Regions from separate parts of the Homo sapiens genome. Here all the other regions are linked to region 3. The links are contacts of gene promoters, found by promoter capture Hi-C in blood cells and fetal thymus (Javierre and others, 2016). All regions are on one chromosome and are shown on one strand. Each heading gives the region's core, a stretch centred on a gene start or on the middle of the fragment in contact. The rest is flanking DNA. Distances are from core to core; before and after follow the strand shown. Region 1 overlaps ASPHD1 (aspartate beta-hydroxylase domain containing 1). Region 2 has its middle 15 kb from the start of KCTD13. Region 3 holds the start of DOC2A (double C2 domain alpha).

Region 1 (2,700 bases), core at 24-2,523, 110 kb before region 3:
GAGAGAGGACCGCGGAAGGAGAGAGAGACAGCCCAGAGTGGAATGTGGAAGGGAAACAGTCCAGCGGGGAGCCAGGGGGCAGCCATGGAAGGGACAGGTGGGGAGCTGGGGGGACAGGGGAACTGGGGTCCGGAGGACGCCCCAGGCCTCTTGGCCAGGGCCTCCCTGATCATGCTCCCGTGGCCACTACCCCTGGCCTCCTCGGCCCTCACCTTGCTCTTCGGGGCCCTCACTTCCCTGTTCCTCTGGTACTGCTACCGCCTGGGCTCCCAAGACATGCAGGCCCTAGGGGCTGGGAGCCGAGCTGGGGGTGTTCGTGGTGGGCCTGTGGGATGCTCGGAGGCCGGCGGGCCAAGCCCAGGGGGTCCTGGGGATCCCGGGGAAGGACCTAGGACGGAAGGCCTAGTGAGCCGGCGGCTTCGGGCCTACGCAAGGCGCTACTCCTGGGCTGGGATGGGTAGAGTGAGGCGGGCAGCTCAGGGTGGCCCAGGCCCTGGGAGAGGGCCAGGGGTCCTAGGTATTCAGCGCCCAGGCCTGCTTTTCCTACCAGACCTGCCTTCAGCCCCCTTTGTGCCGCGGGACGCCCAGCGGCACGACGTGGAGCTCCTGGAGAGCAGCTTCCCTGCCATTTTGCGGGACTTCGGGGCTGTGAGCTGGGACTTCTCAGGGACTACCCCTCCGCCTCGGGGCTGGTCCCCACCTCTGGCCCCCGGGTGCTACCAGCTCCTGCTGTACCAAGCAGGCCGGTGCCAACCCAGCAACTGCCGCCGGTGCCCGGGGGCCTATCGGGCACTGAGGGGGCTTCGAAGCTTTATGAGTGCCAACACCTTCGGCAATGCCGGCTTTTCCGTTCTCCTGCCTGGGGCCCGGCTCGAGGGCCGCTGTGGGCCCACCAATGCCCGGGTCAGATGCCATCTGGGTAAGTAGCTGCCGCCTACTGACAACCTCCTTGCCTCGATGATTTCCCCCCCAGACCCTTCTCTCCGCCAGAGCCGTCTGCTGTCTGGTTCTCATTGTGCCTCTCTTCTTCCATGGCTCCCTGTTGCCACCCACAGCAGCATTTCCTCAGCCTCGGTTATCTGCACACCACCTTCATAAGCTTTGCCGTGGTCATTCCCATCTGTACTGCGTTTCTTCACCTTGGCTCTCCCCCCGACCTTTTGTTCTACGTATTTAAAAGAAATATTTATAGCACTATCAGTATTACTTGCCCTAAATAGTACTCATAAAAAGCCTGGACAACACAGTGAGACCTTGTCTCTACAAATAATAAAACAATTAGCCGGGCGCGGTGGCCCATGCCTATGGTCCCAGCTACTGGAGAGGGTGAGGTGGGAGGTTCACTGGAGCTCAGCAGTTTGAGGCTGCAGTGAGCTGAGATTGTGCTACTGCACTCCAGCCTGGGTGACAAGAAAGTACTCATAAACACAAGCTGAAATTTAAAAAAGAAAGCTTTCAACAGTCTAGAACATTCTAGTTAAGTGCTCTAGTCTCTCTGATCCTGAAGCCTACACTTTTTTCTTTTTTGAGGAGTCTCGCTCTGTCGCCCAGGCGAGAGTGCAGTGGCACGATCTTGGCTCACTGCAAGCTCCACCTCCCGGGTTCATACCATTCTCCTGCCTCAGCCTCCCGAGTATCTGGGACTACAGGCACCTGCCACTACACCTGGCTAATTTTTTTTTATTTTGTATTTTTAGTGAAGACAGGGTTTCACCATGTTAGCCAGGATGGTCTCCATCTCCTGACCTCGTGATCAATCCGCCTCGGCCTCCCAAAGTGCTGGGATTACAGGCATGAGCCACCGTGCCTAGCCCTACACCTTCTTTTTTAAAAGGGTTGGTGGGGTGTCAAAGTTACAGTAGCACCAAACTGAGATTTTTTCTTTTTCTTTTTTTTTTTTTTTTGAGACAGGGTCTCACTCTGTCACCCAGGCTGGAGTGCAGTGGCACAAACATGGCTCACTACAGCCTTAACCTCCTGAGATCAAAGGATCCTCTCACCTCAGCCTCCTGAGTAGCTGGGACCACAGGTGCCCACCACCATGCTTGGCTGATTTTTTAAAAATTTACGTAGGCCAGGCGCGGTGGCTCACGCCTGTAATCCCAGCACTTTGGGAGGCTGAGGCAGGCGGATCACCTGAGGCTGGGAGTTCGAGACCAGCTGACCAACATGGAGAAATCCTGTCTCTACTAAAATTACAGAAAATTAGCTGGGTGTGGTGTCGCATGCCTGTAATCCCAGCTACTCGGGAGGCCGAGGCAGGAGAATCACTTGAACTCGGGAGGCGGAGGTTGCAGTGAGCCGAGATCACAACATTGCACTCCAGCCTGGGCAACAAGAGCGAAACTTCATCTCAAAAACAAGAAAAAAAAATTGTGTAAAGACAGGCTGGACCTGAACTCCTGAACTCAAGTGATCCTCCTGCCTTGGCCTCCCAAAGTGCTGAGATTACAGGCGTGAGCCACCGCACCTGGCACTTTTTGATGTCTTAAAGACTGGAAGAAAATGGAAAAGGAAATAATTTTCTGTTATTCCATGCCATGACCTTGTTTTGCCCCCAATCATCTCCTGTGCTGCCAGCTGGATGTGTCCTACACTTCAGGGCACACTAGCCTCAGGATCAGTTCCCAATCCTTCCTCTCTTCCCTCTCTCTGTGCTCTAAATCATGAAAACCTTCTGGCCAATCCTGACAGATGCCA
Region 2 (2,700 bases), core at 1-2,500, 70 kb before region 3:
AGTGCAGTGGCACAATCTCGGCTCACTGCAACCTCTGCCTCCTGGGTTCAAGCGAATCTCGTGCCTCAGCCTCCCAAGTAGCTGGGATTACAGGTGCCTGCCACCACACCTGGCTAATTTTTGTATTTTTAGTAGAGACAGGGATTCACCATATTGGCCAGGCTGGTCTTGAACTCCTGGCCTCACGTGATCCACCCACCTCGGCCTCCCATAGTGCTGGGATTATAGGTGTGAGTCACTGCACCCGGCCTGGATTTTTTTTTTTCAGTGAAAGATACTGATTTTTTTTAAGTTGACTCAAAGCAAGTTTTAAACACTCTGTGTCCACTTCATGTTGCTATCACAGAATATCACAGTCTGCGTAGTTTAGGAACAATAGACATTTATTTGGCTTATGGTTCTAGAGGCTGTGAAGTCCAAGATACAGGAGCTGCCTCTGGTGAGACATCATCACGTGGCAAGAGAGCATGAGAGAGAGAAAGAGGGGGCTGAATTTGCTTTTATAACAAACCCATTCCTGAAATAATGGCATTAATCCATTGACCTAATTGCCTCTTAAGGATCTCACCTCTCAACAGTATTACATCAGGGATTAACTTTCCAACACCTGAGATTTGAGGGACTCATTCAAACCATAGTACTCTGAAATTGGATATATAGGTCTATGGGTGAGATTCCCACTGAGGGTTGCCAGTTTGCAACCTTTCAGTTGAATGGTCTCCCTCCTGGATGTCAAGGTTAATACTGCTATGAACAGCTATTATGCACCTAAGTTGAACCAGGGAGAGAACACATCCTTCCGCATGTACTATTTTATTTAATGTTATTTTCTACTAAGTCATTCAGAACTCTCTGGACTCTCTTCATGCTGTGTAATTTGCAAGGTTGCCTGCTGCATGTTTGGTTATAAATGAGGTCAAATCCCAATTTTGCAGGAGGACGTGGATGTATGCCCATTCCCTTCACACTGTGAGCCAGTAGCCATGGGAACTATAATCAAGTACACAATAACTCCCCCATGAACAAATCCTCAGGGAACAAGCTTCAATTGAATGAAACTGGCTTGACCACAGAGGAATCTGGGGGACTTTCTGAGCTTCGCGGACTTGTGCCGCCTCCTGACTTTAAGCTGGCTCTGGAGGAGGAGGAAGTGGAGGTATCTCAGGTATGGACCTCTTTCTGGAAGCTGGGACTTGGACCAGGCAAAGAAAGGAGGCGGTGGGGAAAATTCCCCCAGAGAAGGCAGGAGTGGGCCCTGCATACCAGGTCCCCAGGTCTCTGAGAGCTTTACTAGTTCTGGGAGTGTGTGGATCAAGCCTAAAGTCTAGAAGGAATTCTAGCATCACCCAGGGCGTTGGCTGGAATATCTTTAAGGACCCTTCCAGCCCTGGAATCATAGCAGCAAAGGACCCAATTGTATGACAGCTGCTTTGGCCAGTGAAGATGGAAAGACCAGGAAAAGCTTTAGGCTAAGCAATGGAGTTCACACCCCGCTAATTCACCTCCCTTGCGGCATCCCTGACATTTCCCACACAATATGTCCTTCATTCTGTTCTCCAAAAAGCCATTGCCTTCCTCTAACTGACTGAGATGAGCCCTGGAAACCCTGATGCCCACCAGACCCCTGCCTTTCCTCTTCTCTGCTGTTGGCCAAGGTTTCTGCCTCAGTTGCCCTGTCTGACAATACAGTTTCCCTAGGACTGGAGCTAGCCCTGGCATCCCAGAATCCCCAACAGGTGCTAGCCCCTGGAGTCAGGACTGTCTTCCTGTGTCCCTGTGCTTGCTGCAGAATAAACTGATTACTTTTAACTACCATTCTGAATATAGTCACTACCAGGAACCGCTGACTACCTGTGACATACCATCTAGCATGGTACCACAGCACCTGGCCCAGCATCTTGGGAGGCCAAGGTGGGAGGACTGCTTGAGGGCAGGAGTTTGAGATCAACCTGGGCAACTACATAGTGAGACCCCACCTCTACAAAAAATTTCAAAATTAGCCGAGTGTGATTGCACATGCCTGTAGTCCCAGCTACTTGGGAGGCTGAGGCAGGAGGATGGATTGAGCACAGGAAGTGGAGGCTGCAGTGAGCTATGATTGCACCACTGCACTCCAGCCTGGGAGACAAAGGGAGATTCCGTACATAAATAAACAAATAAATAAAAAACAAAGGAGATGGATTTTTTTCTACAAGAGAGTTACATGCAGGGTGCTAGGTACTATAGGTGGAGACTTGCCGAGGTTCAGTGGGAATGGGAGCTCAATCCTGAGAGTGGGGGAAGGCATTACAGAGGCTGTGACCTTTGAGACTGGTCTTGAAGAAAGAGAAAATGTGTACAAGGCAGAAAGAAGGGAGAAAGTTACCCGAAGAGAGAACTGCACCAGCCAAAAATATGGAGGTATGGAGTAGGTAGAATTGTGAGACATTTATGTGACTGGAGTGAAAAATGAGAGATGATGCTGGAAAGGAGAGTTAAGGCCAGGTTTTGAAGGATCTCTTAAAAAAATAATAGGCTGGCGAGATTGTGCCACTGCACTCCAGCCTGGGCGACAGAGCAAGACTCCGTCTCAAAAATAATAATAATAATAGTAATAATAGGCTGGGCACAGTGGTTCACACCTGTAATCCCAGCGCTTTGGGAAGCCAAAGCGGGCAGATCACTCAAGATCAGGAGTTCAAGACCAGCCTGGCCAACACG
Region 3 (2,700 bases), core at 178-2,677:
GTGTGTGCGAGAGGCCAGCAGGTGGGCACTGGCTCTGTGTGTCTCTCTCTCTTGCCAGCCCGCGAGTGTGAGTGCAAGAGGCTGAGTGGGCCCATGCGTGTGTGCGTCTGGGTCCCTGGCTCGGCCGCAACTGGGGCTGTGTGGGTGGTGGAGTGTCTCAGCAGAAATACTGAATATTGAGCCTTGCTGAAGCTGTAATCTCCACGCTGACTGCAGCTGTGGTGGCCGTCCCTGCCACCCCCCCACTGCCCTCCTCCCCTACCTACATGCACAGCCAGCAGGGCCCATCCCCCTCTCCCCCCACCACGGCAAGCCTGGAGACCCCCACCAGCACATGGGGCCTCCAAGCCCCCAGACTCACTGGCATCATCCGAGTCATAGCTGTCCACCTCCGCACCATCCTCAGGCGTGGTGGCCCCAAGGAGGGCTGCAGGGGGGGCCAGAGCCAGGGGGACCAGATGGGCGGGGGCCTCCCCGCCGCCCCCGCCGCCCCCTTCAGGTCCTGGTCCCCGGGGGAAGTAGTCAGAGATCTGGCGGATGGGCCGGATGGGCCCGGGGCACACGTTGATGGCCATGTGCTCCTGGATGTTGATGGTCATGCGATCGCCCCTGCGGCCCCTCATGCAGCACCCCTGGCTAGGAGAGGGCGTGTGAGCCAGTGAGCCCATCATACCTAGCCATCCTGGCTGAGGGCCAGGCGACGGCCTCCTCGGTCTGTGGGGCCCTCACTGGCCTCCCTTCCTAGGTGTCGAGGGAGAGGGTGGTGTGTGCCAGCCGGTGGCAGGTGGGAGGCCTGGGCCCTGCAGACCCCAAGCTGACTCCACAGGGGCTGGGCTGCCAACCCACTCCTTGCAGAAGTCGAGGTTGCACCACCCCGTCCTCACCCACCCACTTCTAGGTTGTCCCTGTATCATCTTGCCAGCTCCTTCCTCTCCTCCGGGGCTCCCCTCTGCTCCTGAGCCTGCCTGTCCCCCAAGGGGCCCTGCAGGGCCCCGCCTCTGTTTCTCGGAGGCTCTGTCCTCCTCTGCACCAGGCGCTGGTCTAGTCAGGGTGTCACCCACCCCTCTAGGCTCCAACTGCCCACTGTCCCCTCATTCAGCCCCAGGACCTGTCTGCCTGCCTGGTTCCCCCGCTCGCTCACCACAGCCCACGGTGGAGACCCCAGCCTCAGATGCCACCTCTGGCTCCTCAGGGGAGCCAGAAATTGCAGCCGCAGGAGAGCCGAACACCCCCGTAGCGCACACAGGCTGGCACGCTTCCCCGCACCCTCACGCCCCCGGCCTGCCCAGCCCCCTGCACCTGCCTCTGCCTCCAACAGGTGCCCAGGCACTGGGGGGACGGCGGGCGCAGGCTGGGCGGCGGCGGCCGGCGAGGAGAGCGCGGAGTCGAGCTGTGCGAGCCGAGAGGGAGGGAGCGCCGAGAAAGTGCGGGGAGGAGGGGGTGAGCGAGGTGGAGGCGAGGATGCAGCCGGCGCGGCGGCGGGGGACGGGGAGGGGCGCTGGGGCTGGGGAGGGGGCGGGATCTCGGACTCCCACCCGGGGCCCGCTCGGGAGCGCACGCGAGCGCGCACACACACGTGTGCTCGCGCGCGCACACTCACGCAGGGGCACGCGGACCGGCACACACTCGTGTGCACACATCCAACCGGGCACCCCCGCGCGCACACGCCCGTGCCCACGTGTGCACGCTCACACCCTTGCACACACCCAGGCGCGCGCTGGCACACTTACCCGGAGAACTTCGCACACACACGCACTCGCAAACACGCGGGCTCCCTGCGCCACCAGGAAGCAGCCGCCAGAATCGCCGGGTGTTCCCCAACTACTCCTGGGAGACCTGGCCCCCCGCCCCCGCCCGCGCGCGCGGCCACGGCGCCTCCCTCCCTCCCGGGTCCCCAAGGCCGGACCACCGGCCTCGTTGTCATGGCGACGCCGGCTCATCTCCCCCCACCCCCGCGCGTCTTCACGCCCCTCCCCCGCAGGGAGCTGGGGCCTCCCTCCTCCCTTCCCCACGTCCGTAGGGACCCACAGGTTGACAGGAGCAGGGGGTCGCCTGCTGTCACCGGCCGGGGATCTCGGGGTCTCCCGAGCCAGGCTGGGGAGCCTCACGATCTGAGGGAGGAGGCAGAGGTCTGATGCTGCGGCTTCCCCCACGCCCCCTCCCTTTGGCCGTTCAGGCCTCTCTCCTTGTGGCCCAACCCAACTCCCAGGGGCCCATGTCCCCTTACCAGGGATGGTATCTCCTTTGGGAACCACCCTCCCCCCTGCCATCCCCAGTTCTGCCCCGCAGGTGGGAAGGGGCGTCGGGGCTTGGCTCTGAAGGTCTCAGAGCCCTGCGGTAGTTCCCCATGGGCTGCCATTTCTCACCCAAACCTTGCCACCCCCAAGCCGCCCCCCTGCCCGGCCCTGCGCCTGCCACGGAGTGTCAGTCCACCCCTGGCCTTCGGTCTTCACTCACCTGTGCCCCAAACTTACCATCCCGAAGACACGAAGGGGCTTATCACCCTCGCTGCCCACCACTGACTCACCCAACCGTTTCCTGCAGTTCCTGGGACACACCTAGACGGCTCAGGCCTAGGGATCTTGGCTCACATGCGCTCCTCTACCTGGGAACCGCGCTTCCTTAGGAAGTCACCGTGGGTCCCCTCTTCCTAGGAGCCTTCCTGGGGCATCCCGCACTGCCCCTCAGCTCCAGCGCCGT

What was found. Contacts are between HindIII fragments. The CHiCAGO score rates a contact against its expected background, and 5 or more counts as called.
Region 1: a fragment that was not itself captured here is called in contact with the fragment with the promoter of DOC2A in region 3 in 6 of 17 cell types (megakaryocytes, endothelial precursors, erythroblasts and 3 more); the score reaches 8.0 in megakaryocytes.
Region 2: a fragment that was not itself captured here is called in contact with the fragment with the promoter of DOC2A in region 3 in 1 of 17 cell types (M1 macrophages); the score reaches 5.5 in M1 macrophages.

What each region holds. Positions count from the first base shown.
Region 1 is chr16:29,901,002-29,903,701 of GRCh38, forward strand. It overlaps ASPHD1 (aspartate beta-hydroxylase domain containing 1), which reads left to right. Exons shown (of 3, transcript NM_181718.4): 1 at 1-919. Among named protein-coding and RNA genes, the nearest start is that of ASPHD1, 1.9 kb to the left of the region's middle. RefSeq lists an enhancer at 508-1,212. The HindIII fragment of the contact is 353 bases long and covers 1,098-1,450 here.
Region 2 is chr16:29,939,853-29,942,552 of GRCh38, forward strand. No RefSeq gene overlaps it. Among named protein-coding and RNA genes, the nearest start is that of KCTD13, 15 kb to the left of the region's middle. The HindIII fragment of the contact is 420 bases long and covers 1,041-1,460 here.
Region 3 is chr16:30,009,600-30,012,299 of GRCh38, forward strand. It overlaps DOC2A (double C2 domain alpha), which reads right to left and starts at 1,428. Exons shown (of 11, transcript NM_003586.3): 1 at 1,304-1,428; 2 at 362-636. The coding sequence starts at 623. RefSeq lists a silencer at 1,335-1,394. The HindIII fragment of the contact is 12,263 bases long and covers 1-2,700 here.